4 separate regions of the Homo sapiens genome follow, and regions 2, 3 and 4 are each linked to region 1. The links are contacts of gene promoters, found by promoter capture Hi-C in blood cells and fetal thymus (Javierre and others, 2016). All regions are on one chromosome and are shown on one strand. The core of a region is centred on a gene start or on the middle of the fragment in contact, and the rest is flanking DNA. Distances in the headings are between cores, read along the strand shown.

The links. Contacts are between HindIII fragments. The CHiCAGO score rates a contact against its expected background, and 5 or more counts as called.
Region 2: a contact is called between a fragment that was not itself captured here and the fragment with the promoter of B4GALT6 in region 1, in 1 of 17 cell types (erythroblasts). The highest score is 5.1, in erythroblasts.
Region 3: a fragment that was not itself captured here is called in contact with the fragment with the promoter of B4GALT6 in region 1 in 1 of 17 cell types (fetal thymus); the score reaches 6.9 in fetal thymus.
Region 4: a contact is called between a fragment that was not itself captured here and the fragment with the promoter of B4GALT6 in region 1, in 2 of 17 cell types (erythroblasts and fetal thymus). The highest score is 6.7, in erythroblasts.

Annotation. Positions count from the first base shown.
Region 1 is chr18:31,683,246-31,686,050 of GRCh38, forward strand. B4GALT6 (beta-1,4-galactosyltransferase 6) reads right to left here and starts at 1,336. Exons shown (of 9, transcript NM_004775.5): 1 at 1,067-1,336. The coding sequence starts at 1,181. RefSeq lists a silencer at 1,433-2,472. The HindIII fragment of the contact is 10,803 bases long and covers 1-2,805 here.
Region 2 is chr18:32,112,535-32,115,339 of GRCh38, forward strand. It overlaps RNF138 (ring finger protein 138), which reads left to right. Exons shown (of 8, transcript NM_016271.5): 4 at 1,211-1,326. Among named protein-coding and RNA genes, the nearest start is that of RNF138, 22 kb to the left of the region's middle. The HindIII fragment of the contact is 5,185 bases long and covers 1-2,805 here.
Region 3 is chr18:32,075,588-32,078,392 of GRCh38, forward strand. It overlaps a transcript of RNF125 not described here and the pseudogene RPS15AP35. Among named protein-coding and RNA genes, the nearest start is that of RNF138, 15 kb to the right of the region's middle. The HindIII fragment of the contact is 9,029 bases long and covers 1-2,805 here.
Region 4 is chr18:32,022,124-32,024,928 of GRCh38, forward strand. The region is part of intron 1 of RNF125 (ring finger protein 125); the gene reads left to right. Among named protein-coding and RNA genes, the nearest start is that of RNF125, 4.7 kb to the left of the region's middle. The HindIII fragment of the contact is 1,182 bases long and covers 817-1,998 here.

The sequences.
Region 1 (2,805 bases), core at 86-2,585:
GCCCTGATCATTCCATCTGAAAATTCTGCAGGTGTTTTCACTCTGTAAGGGGCATTACATTTTTAGCTAACTCGGAACAAAGAGCACTGGCTCAAACGACCACAGTGTGTAAGGAGAAATGAGAGGAGATGCTCACTGTTACTAAGTAATTGAACATTAAATACGTAATAGCCAGGAAAAACTCAGAAAAGTTTTGGAAATATGACATATTTTAATATGCATGTGAAGTTCATAATTCTCATTCACTAGAATTAACGCCGCATTGGCTCCTTTTCAACAAATGGGGGACGAGGAATTCGGATATTTAATAAAGAAGTTAATTCAAGCAGTTTTACAAAAGTGTATTTTGCACCAAAGGCCAAAAAATGATAAACCGGTTAACATTTTAAACTACAAGTTCCCTTAGATAACGGTTATTTTAATCACTATTTTCTCAGAAGTCATCCTAACAGGTAGCAAAGGCAACGTACCCTTGAAAATAACACCCAAGCAGACTAAAATAATGGAGCATTGTTTTTACAAGACAACTCATCGCCTTAAAATTCCCCAAGTATGGCACAAAAAGAATGGGGTCCACTGACCCCATTCTAAAAAAGCGACCTAGGACCCTAGAAAACACACATTGTTGGACTCAATCACATTCCCTGCTGCTGGCTCCTCCATATTTTTACAACCAGTTATTATACCCGAGAGTGTTTGAATAAAACTACGATTAAGCACTCAGTTTAGGCTTAAAGACTTAACATTAAATGGATAAAGCTGTCATGAACACTCAAGAAAGCGACTAGGGCATCCCGGGCCATCACACTAATTTTGCTACGTCTATTTAATGCAATCTTTTACGTTATTAACAAACATGCATTAACAAAATGCATGCATTAACAAAACTCACATACCAAAGCCATGCCCTGAAGCAGTTTGACACGTCTGAAATAACATTTAAAACAAAACGCTTTTCTGCGGGCCCCTGTTTGAACAGCTTCCAAATCCCAGAAGTAACATCGGATAACAGCCTGCGCTGGCTGTGGTGTGACCAGGGGAAGCGAGGGTGTGTCTCGGTGCTTACCGATGCCTGGGGCCACATAGATGAAGTACAGACAGGACGAAGAGAGGGAGAAGAAGAAGATGAAGGCGAGGAGAGAGCGATTGGAAACCCGCATCATCCGCCTGAGCACAGACATCTTCCTCTTCCCTGCCAGCAGCCCAGGCTGCGCTCTCAGGCCGGACTCGGGGCCACTGTCCAGGCCCTAAACTTCCATAAATGTGCTGAGAACCCCGAGACTGCAGCGGGGTCCGCGCGGGGAGGCTCTGGGGAGAGGGCCCGAGCGGAAAAGAGGAAATGGGAGGGAGCGGACGGAATGAATGGGAGGCCAGAGAGTCGGGGGAGGGGAGGCGCGGAGGCCGAGGGACAAGAGGTGGAGGGGGGAGAGGGGACTGGGGGCTAGGGGCCCGGGGACGGCAGGACGGAAGAAAGCCGGGGAAGGGCGAGGAGGAGCGTTTTCTCCGCCAAGCAGCGGCGGGAGGAGGGGCTGCAGGTGGGAGGAGGCGCAGGCTGCGCGCCGCGGCGCCCCTGCGGAGAGGGGCAGCTAACTGCAGCACGCCCGGCTCCGCTGCCCGCGCCCGGCGGGGTCCCGCCGCGAAGCCCCGTGCTTAAGGTCCGGGCCGCCCGCGTCCGCTCGGCAGGCCCTGCGCCGCCTCCTACTCCGGGCCGCGGCGTCTCCTGCCTGCGCGGGGCTAGCGTGGGCGCCGGGGCCGCAACCAGCGCGCGCCACGCGCGGGGGCCCGCGGGGGCCCTCGGGGCCGAGGAGCTGGGCGCTCGCCTGCACCGAGCCGCCTCCTCATGCCGCGCCGGGCCCCGGCGCCCCGCGGCCGCCGCGGGAGCTGAGCACAGGCCAGGGCGGCGTCCCGGCCAGCGACGAACGCGCTCCGACTCCGGCCGCCGCCAGCTGCCTGCCTGGCCGCAAGGGCGGCAGCGGCATTACCGCCGCGCGCCCGGGGTGAGGCGCCCCCGCCGGGCCCGCGGACACCAGGCGAAGAGCAACCGGGCGACGCGCGCTGCGGGCAGAGCCGGGGAGCCGGAAGAGCAGAGGCCGAGCGCCGTCGGAGCCGCGTCTGGTTGGAGAAAGAGGCGGACGTGAAGGGGCGGGGGAGCCGCGGAGGAAAACCGGGACCGGCGGGAACGTCTCGAGACCCCTGCGCGCTTCGCGCGCTCGCTCGGAACTCGGCAGGCGGCGCTGCGCCGGGCCCCGAGGAAACCTGGAGGTCCCCGCCCTCCCCGCGCCCGAAACACCGCGCGTCCTGATAGGCCCGCGCCCAGCAGCCCCCTCCCCGCGCCCGCCGCACCGGGGCCCCACCGCCTCCTGCGTCACCGCCGCCCCCGCCCGCCCGGGGACCCCGCGGTGACCGCGCTGCTGGGGGTTGAGGGACGCGTTGCGAGCCCCGGATACATTGTACCCTGGGGGTACATAATGAAGGATGCTGTACCTGAAAGGAAAAGGGCATCTCCAAAAGGGGACTTCGCGGGTGGAATTTCCTTCCAAAATCCTCGAGGAACAAGGTGTATTTCCGACCTGGATTAATGAATCCCCCCTCCTATCCCGCACTTCCTGTGGAAACAGTGTCAGGATGTGGCGCGGACCTATGTGCGTCCCTTATACCAGGACTTGCCTTCAACGCTGAAGGTGAACCCTGGGTCATCCTCGCTGTATTCAGGCGGCGCTGCAAAGGCTTCTGGGCAGCCAATAGGCCCTTGAGCGCCTCAGCCCCATCTTGCTTCAGTAGGCAAACGGACGGGTGTCTTCATCC
Region 2 (2,805 bases), core at 136-2,635, 430 kb after region 1:
ATCAGCCAGGTGTGGTGGCGCATGCCTATAATCCCAGCTACTTGGGAGGCTGAGGCAGAATTGTTTGAACCTGGGCGGCAGAGGTTGCGGTGAGCTGAGATTGCGCCATTGCACTCCAAACTGGGCAACAAGAGCGAAACGCTGTCTAAAAAAAAAGAAGAAGAAAGAAATCACAAAATATTTGGTTAATTTTAAGGAACATGTAGGAAAATCAGGTGTTAACAAATAACCAGCATTAATTCTCTAATCTGGATTTTATTCTATCATTTGGAGAAGGAATAAAATAGAGAGGGGTGGTTAGGCTTTGAGTATATCCATGTGTCTATAGATTTATCACCGACATTTTTTCTAATAGCTAATGAATTCAGTGAGCAAAGCTGGTTGCTATTTCATGCATTCACACAAGTCAGATCTGCTTTTACATCTTTTTGAAGGAAGTGTTTAACTGACAGGGCAATGACGTGAAGCTGGAAAACACACTCGAGAGATTCTGGCTATTCCTCTCAGTGAGAAACTGAAAAATGTTCCAAGTATTCCTGGCAACTTAATTTTTTTTGAGACAGGGTCTCACTTTGTCACCCAGGCTGGAGTACAGTGGCACAATCTCGGCTCACTGCAGCTTTGACTTCCCAGGCTCTAAGCAATCCTCCTGCCTCAGCCCCACAGGTAGCTGAGATTACACCTGGCTAATTTTTGTATTTTTTGTATAAACAGGATTTTGCCATATTGCTCAGGCTGGTCTTGAACCCCTGAACTCAAGCAGTCCACCCATCCCAGCCTCCCAAAAGGCTGGGATTACAAGCGCGAGCCACTGCACCCAGCCAGGAACTTAATTTTTTTTTAAGTGCTTTCTAACTCTGCCAGGCTGCAGAAGTTAAATAATAAGACATGCCCAATAGCATCTGGCATCCTCTTAGTGCTTTTAATTTTTTTGTCTACTGCTGGTAGTGTCTTTTCAAGTGTGAAGTTATTTGCTGTTTTTTGCAGTGAATTTATAGACAGATGGACTCTTCTCCATCTCTACATTTAATGAACAGAAATGTATTATCTATTCTTAACTCCTACTTAAGGATGAAATCATTTACTTTAAAAAAATACAACTCCTGTTTAAATGGAGTATTTAGTTACTTTTATTTTTTCCTCTCTTTACACTATTTCAAATCTTACGAGTTCTATTTTAAATTAAAAGTCACATTTTAATAATTTACAGATTAAATTCTATCGCATGAGACATCATTACAAATCTTGTAAGAAGTATCAGGATGAATATGGTGTTTCTTCTATCATTCCAAACTTTCAGATCTCTCAAGATTCAGTAGGGAACAGGTAAGCAATACTTATTCCTAAATACAGAATTTTCATAATTGAAATGGAAATTGTTTTGGGAACTATATGATAAGGTATTTGGGGGGATGTGTGTGTGTGTATGTGCACATGTGTTTTTAAAGTGAATTGCCAAGTATCAGAACTACAGCATTTGCCTTAAAATCTGTTTGGCACACGTAAGCTCTCATCTGGGAGATGACTTCATGAACTTCAGCTTATGTTATTTAAAATCATTCTAAGAATTTTCATTTTTTTGAGTAAAAAATAAGTTGGAGATTTTTCTCTTACTGATTTTGCAACTGAAATGATTTGAAAAACTATAGAAAATCCTTTTCAGTAATGTATTTGCAAACTACAACCTGTTTTTTCTTTGCTATCTAAGGGATAGACTTAGAGTTTGAAATTTTTATTCTAAAATGTCATGTAAAAATGAAACCAGGTGCAGTGCAGTTCTGTTTGAGTCTCATTTCTTTTAAACAACTAGATTTGGATTGATTTGTATCTTATCTCAGATTCATGTACATTAAACATTTTTATGAAATGTATTTTACACAGAAAAATGGCCAAAATGCACTTGTGGTTTAAAAAAATAATGATTAACATCCAGTTACCTATTAACCCAGGTCAAGAAAGAACATTTTTCAAAACTTCAGGATCTCTATGTGAGCTCCTGCCCATTTGAACCGTACACTCCTAGATGCAACCACTATTCTCTTATTTGGATTATTCATTCCTTTGATTTTCTTTATGTATCATCACCCATGCATGTATCCCTAAACAATGCATTGTTAATTTTGAAAACTTCAGTAGTAAGCACATACGTAACTGTAAGGAAAGACAATATTGCCACTATTATAGAAAGGTTCCCAGGAGACAGTATGTTAAGCAGTCTCTAATATTTTATTTTAGTAGCCTTTCATTTTACATATTGCTAATTTTTAGTAACTTAACCGCCCTTAAGCACTTCATGTTGATCATACTACATTAGGCGTCTTCCCTACTCAGTTGAAATTTCTGGTAAAAACCTTTAGTGATTGTCTGGTAAAGATCTGCAGTAATTTTCTGATTGCCTAGTCTGAAAAAACTTCAGGTTCTCATTTTACTTGACTTGTTAGTGTCAAGGAAATTTGTTTGAAAGTTGTTGCTCTTATAGTTTTTTTTTAGTCCTTCTGGGTTTCTTCATTTCTATGTTTTTCTTATTGTTGTACTTCTACTTTATTGTAATTTCCTATCTGCTTTTTTACCCAATAGATTGTTCTTAAGTGAGGGGATGGTGTTTGTCTTGTTGAGCATATCTCCAGCTTTTAGTAAAGTTCTTAGTATACATGATTGTAATCACGCTTTTAATGACCAAATTTTCTTATCAGGAGACAGGCCTTCCTCCCCCTTATTTCTTAGATCCACTTGGTCATAGACACTTGATTCCTAATAGCAATATTCCTCATCTGTACTTTTATTTTATCTTGTCACTTCCCTAGC
Region 3 (2,805 bases), core at 133-2,632, 390 kb after region 1:
GAGGCTGAGGCAGGAAAATTGCTTGAACCTGGGAGGTGGAGGTTGCAGTGAGCCGAAATTGTGCCATTGCACTCTAGCCTGGGCAACAAGAGCTAAACTCCATCTCAAAAAAAAAAAAAAAAAAAGGTCCATTCCTCATACAGCAGTTGGAGAGATCTTTAAAAGCATCAATCTGATTGTGCCATGCCACCTTTTCACTGCTTAAAATGCTCCCAGGGCCTCCATTGTTTTCTTTGTTGTTGTTGTTTGTGTGTGTATGTCCACGAGTCATTTTATTTGTAAATATATATTACATCTCTAGAAAAGAATCCTAGGATTTTCCCTCCTGTGTGTTTTCGTCTTTGCTTCTTCATGGTCCATGATGCCAGCTGAGGTTGTCAGTACAATGAAACCAAACTGGCAGGATGGGAGCAGATTATTCTGCCATTTTTCTAGATCTTTGAGTTGCACGTCAAATCTGGGGCTAATCACTCTACACTTGTTTAGCCTGCCTGTGAGGTTCACAATCTTCCCAGCTCTGATCATCAATGATTTCAGACTCGCCAATGTAACCATGCTTCATTATCACAGTTAGAAACCGGATGATGACTTTGGAGCATGGCCCAATAAGAACCTGGTGTTTGCCTCTCTTTTTGGCATTGTTGATGCTCTTGAGAGCATCAGCCAGGACATTTATGCGCACCATTGTGGTGACATGGAAAGATTGTGGAAAGAGGTTTTTTTTGGTTGTTTTTTTGTTTTTTTTTTGAAACAGGGTCTCACTCTGTCTTCCAGGCTGAGTGCAGTGGTATGATTACAGCTCACTGCAACCTCGACCTTTTGGGCTTGAGCCATCCTCCCACCTCACCCTCCCTAGTAGCTGGGATCATAGACATGCACTACCATGCTGGGCTAATTTGTAAAATTTTTGTAGAAATGGAGGTCTCACTATGTTGCCCAGGTTGGTCTCTTGGACTCCAGCCATTCTCTTGCTTTGGCTTCTCAAAGTGTTGAGATTACAGGTGTGAGCCAACACGCCCGGCCTCCATTATTATGAGAATAAATTCTAAAGGCCTTTCCATGCCCTTCAATGAAAGCCCTTCACAACCTGGTCCCTGCCCACTCTCCAACTTCATCTCACTCCACTCTCTCCCTTGATCCTTATACTTCGGCCACACTGTTAGGTTTATTAAACACACCAAACTTACAGTGGGTCCTGCATCTTGGCACTTTCTATTCCTTCTGTTTGAAAAGCTCTTCGCTGGGAGTTTGACATGACTGCCTTCTAAATCATTCAACTGTCAGCTCAAATGTCATCTTCTCATAAAGGAATTACCTTGTAATTCCAGCCAAAGTCACTCCTCCACCAAATCTGTCTATTGTTTTACTGTAATGTCTCCATAACTGTACTAGAATGAGAAGTTATCTTATACATTTATTTTCATTTTTATTGGTTATTTCCTCTCTCTAGAATATAAATTTTGGATTGCAAGTATTCACCACTAAATTCTCCAAAATCTAAAACAATGGCACATGTCAAGTACTTAGTAAATATTTCAGCTGTCTAATCTATCATGAGACCTACTGATGATATATACACATATACATCATCAGTGTGTGATGATAACACACATATAAAACATCCAGCATGAAGTAGAAGGATTGCTTGGCCCAGGAGTTCAGGAATTTGAGGCTATAGTGCACTATGATAGTGCCTGTGAATAGCCACTGCATTCCAGCCTGGGCGACATAGCAACCCCTCTCCCCATTTTTTTTTTTTTTTTTTTTTTTGAGACATGTAATCCCAACACTTAAGACGGAGTCTTGCTCTGTTGCCCAGGCTAGAGTGCAGTGGTGTGATCTCAGCTCAATGCAACCTCTGCCTCCCGGGTTCAAGCGATTCTCCTACCTCAGCCTCCTGAGTAGCTGGGATTACAGGCATGTATCACTACGCTCAGCTAATTTTTGTATTTTAGCAGAGGCAGTGTTTCACCTTGTTGGCCAGGCTGGTCTCGAACTCCTGACCTCAAGTGATCCGCCCACCTCGGCCTCCCAAATTGCTGGGATTACAGGTGTGAGCCACCTCGCCGGGCCGTAAAACCCCATTTTTGAAAGAAGAAAAAAATCATAATATTACCAGTAATCAAAGACATTAACTTGACCACTCTAGTCATGTACCATTTTTCTCTCTTAGCATAATGTCTGGCATAGTGTAACCTCTAATAATTTTTTTTTTTTTTAGAGACATGGTTTCACCCTCTCACCCAGGCTGGAGTGCAGTGGTGTGACATGGCTCACTGCAGCCTTGACCTCCCAGGTCCAAGTGATCCTCCTACCTCAGCCTCCTGAGTAGCTGGGACTATAGGCACACACCACCACATCTAGCTAATTTTTAAAATTTTTTGTAGAGACAGGGTCTCACTATGTTGCCTAAGCTGGCTGCAAACTCCTGGGCTCAAGTGACCCTCCCACCTCAGCCTCCCAAAGTGCTGAGATTACAGGCGTGAGCTACCAGGCCCAGCCTCCAATAAATATTTTTTGATTCAGTCTATTAGCAAAATTTCTCAATTAATAATCCCCCATGAAAGGATGATATGGTGAAACTGGCATATTGTGCTGGTGATAGCGGTATAACTTACACATTTCAAAGCAAGTTGATAGTAATATCTTACCTCTTGGCCCAGTAATTCTACATCTGGAAATATTTCCTGGCACTCTAATCCAAAATGGAATCTATATGCAGGATAAAATTTATTGCAACACCATTCATAATGACAAAAAAAGGAGTGGGACGTAATAAAGTCTAATAACGGTTAAATAGTGGCA
Region 4 (2,805 bases), core at 158-2,657, 340 kb after region 1:
AATGCAAATGAACCTTCTGTATTTTATTATCCCATATTGAAGCTACATTTTCAGACATGTTGAACTAGGTGGTTTATGCTGATTTTTGTTTGTAAACCTATTTCAAGTCAAACAAGTTTAATAATAACAACAGTACCTTGAATGAATATGTAAGAGCACTTTATAAGTTGTATTGTGATGCAGTAGTAACTGGCCCTTACAGAGAGCTGGATTTGAAATTCACCTCTGCCACTAGCCAGATGTGTGACCACTTTAGGGAAATTTGAATTTGATTTTTTTCCCCTAAAGTTTTGATCATTTGAGTCTATGAAACAAACTGCTAATAGATTAACAAGGGGGGAAAAGCTTACAAATGTATTAATGAGCATATGGGCATGGGAGTCATACAAAATATGAAAACTGAGAGAAAGGGCCAGATGCTTGATGCTTTTATACCATCTTGAGGTTACAGCAGAGTAGGGGCTTGGAACATGGTTATGGGAGGGAGAAAGAAAGAAGGGGCTGGGGCAAAGATGGTCTAGTTATGCAGATGAAACTTCATAGATAGCAGCTCCTAGAAAGAATAGGCATGAGCCTGTGTTAAGTTGCTCTGTCAGACCTTCGTAGGTGTCAGACTTTCAGTTAATAATTTCCTAGGTACAGATAAGGGGGTGCCTCCAAGAAAGCCTGGTTGTTTATTTCACCAGTGTAGATTTTCTCTACAGATGCAAGTCTCCTCCACAAAAGGCAGCTTTTCAGGGTTATTCCTGTGGGAATATATCAAAGAAGTACATTTTGGGGTGAAATATTTTCAGTTTCCTTTAGTCCCCCATTTAAAGCTTAATTTTTAAAACATTAAACATTTCCTTTATTTTTATTATTTATTTATTTATTTTTAGCGGTGAGATCTCACTCTGCCACCCAGGCTGCAGTGTAGTGGTGCAATCATGGCTCACTGCAGCCTCCACCTCCTGGGCTCAGCAATCCTCCTGCCTCAGCCTCTCACGTAGCTGGGACTATAAGTGCCTGCCACCATGCCTGGCTATTTTTCACTTATTTGTTTATTTTGAGATGGAGTCTCACTCTGTCACCTAGGCTGGAGGGCAGTGGCGTGATCTCAGCTCGCTGCAACCTCTGCCTCCCAGGTTCAAGTGACTGTCCCGCCTCAGCCACTCTAGTAGCTGGGATTACAGACATGCACCACCACACCTGGCTAGTTTTTGTATTTTTTGTAGAGGCAGGGTTTCGCCATTTTGCCCAGGCTGGTCTTGAACCCCTGAGCTCAGGTGATTTGCCTGCCTCGGCCTCCCAAAGTGCTGGAATTACAGGAGTGAGCCACTGCACCCAGCCAAGAAAGTGACAATTCTTTACATACCGCAAGGTCAGGATTTTGTAAGGGAACCATATACACAGGGTACCAGGCCAATCTTTTTCTAAGTCTGTTGGCTTTTTAATGTCAATTTCAGTCCCTCAAAACAGTTTGATCATGTATCTAAGTATGACATTCCAGTTAAAGCCTTGCTAAAATAACCACTGTCTCCAATTATGTCCTGTTCAGACTGTTACTGAACTTATGCATGTAACTATATTGCCATGAAATAGGAATACTCAAAACCCAGTTTGTGAATCCAAAGAGAAAAAGGTAAATTATTTTGCTCACAAAAGTATACTTGGCCAGGTGCAGTGGCTCATGCCTGTAATCCCAGGACTTTGGAAGGCCGATGCAGGAGGATGGCTTGAGACCAGCAGTTTGTGACTAGCCTGGGCAACATAGTGAGACCCCATCTCTACTACACAAAAGTCTTGTTCAAAAGAGAAAACCATATTTTACTTTTGAATCAGTATATCAATAATAAATTTAAATAAAACCTAATAAACAAGTCCATCCAATTTCAGTCAGCTTTGACCACACAAGATTTACATATCTTTTATAACCTCTTACGATTTTTCTTCTATTTCCAACTTTCTATATTCATTTAGTTTTATCTATATCTTTTTTTATTCTTTCAATTTGAAACAAGCTTCAAATAACTTCTAAACTAGACACAATTCGTTTTCCATTAACAAAAAAATCACACTTCATGCCATTCTTTTTTTTTTTTTTTTCTTTTTTTTTTTAAGATGGAGTCTCACTGTGTCACCCAGGCTGGCGTGCAGTGGCATGATCTTGGCTCATTGCAACCTCTGCCTCCCAGGTTCTCCTGCCTCAGCCTCCTGAGTAGCTGGGATTACAGGCGTGCACCACCACACCCGGCCTCATGCCATTCTTACAACCTTTCTCTCCAAGAACATATCTTGCTTTTTTGGTATATTCTGCCTGAAGAATTGTTTGTCTTATTTCTAGTAGTTTTATTTGTTTGTTTTTAGAGATATGATCTAAGAACAAACTACTCAGTGATGTGATCATAGCCTACTGCAACCTCAAATTCCTGGGCTCAAGCAATCCTCCTACCTCAACCTCCTGAGTAGCTGGAACAACAGGCATGCCCCACCACACCCTGCTAAAATTTTATTTTTTTATAGAGACAGGGTCTGCCTATGTTGCCCAGGCCAATCTTGAATTCCTAGGCTCAAGTGATCCTCCTGCCTTAGCCTCTCAAAGAGCTGGGATTACAGGCATGAGCACTCCCAAACTGCTGGGATTACAGGCATGAGCCACCACACCCAGCCAACTAACAATTTAAAACTAGCTTTATTGCTGGGCACAGTGGCTCACACCTATAATCCCAGCACTTTGGGAGGCCGAGGCAGGCGGATCACTTGAGCCCAGGAGTTGGAAACCAGCCTGGTCAACATGGCGAAACCTTGTCCCTACTGAAAATACTA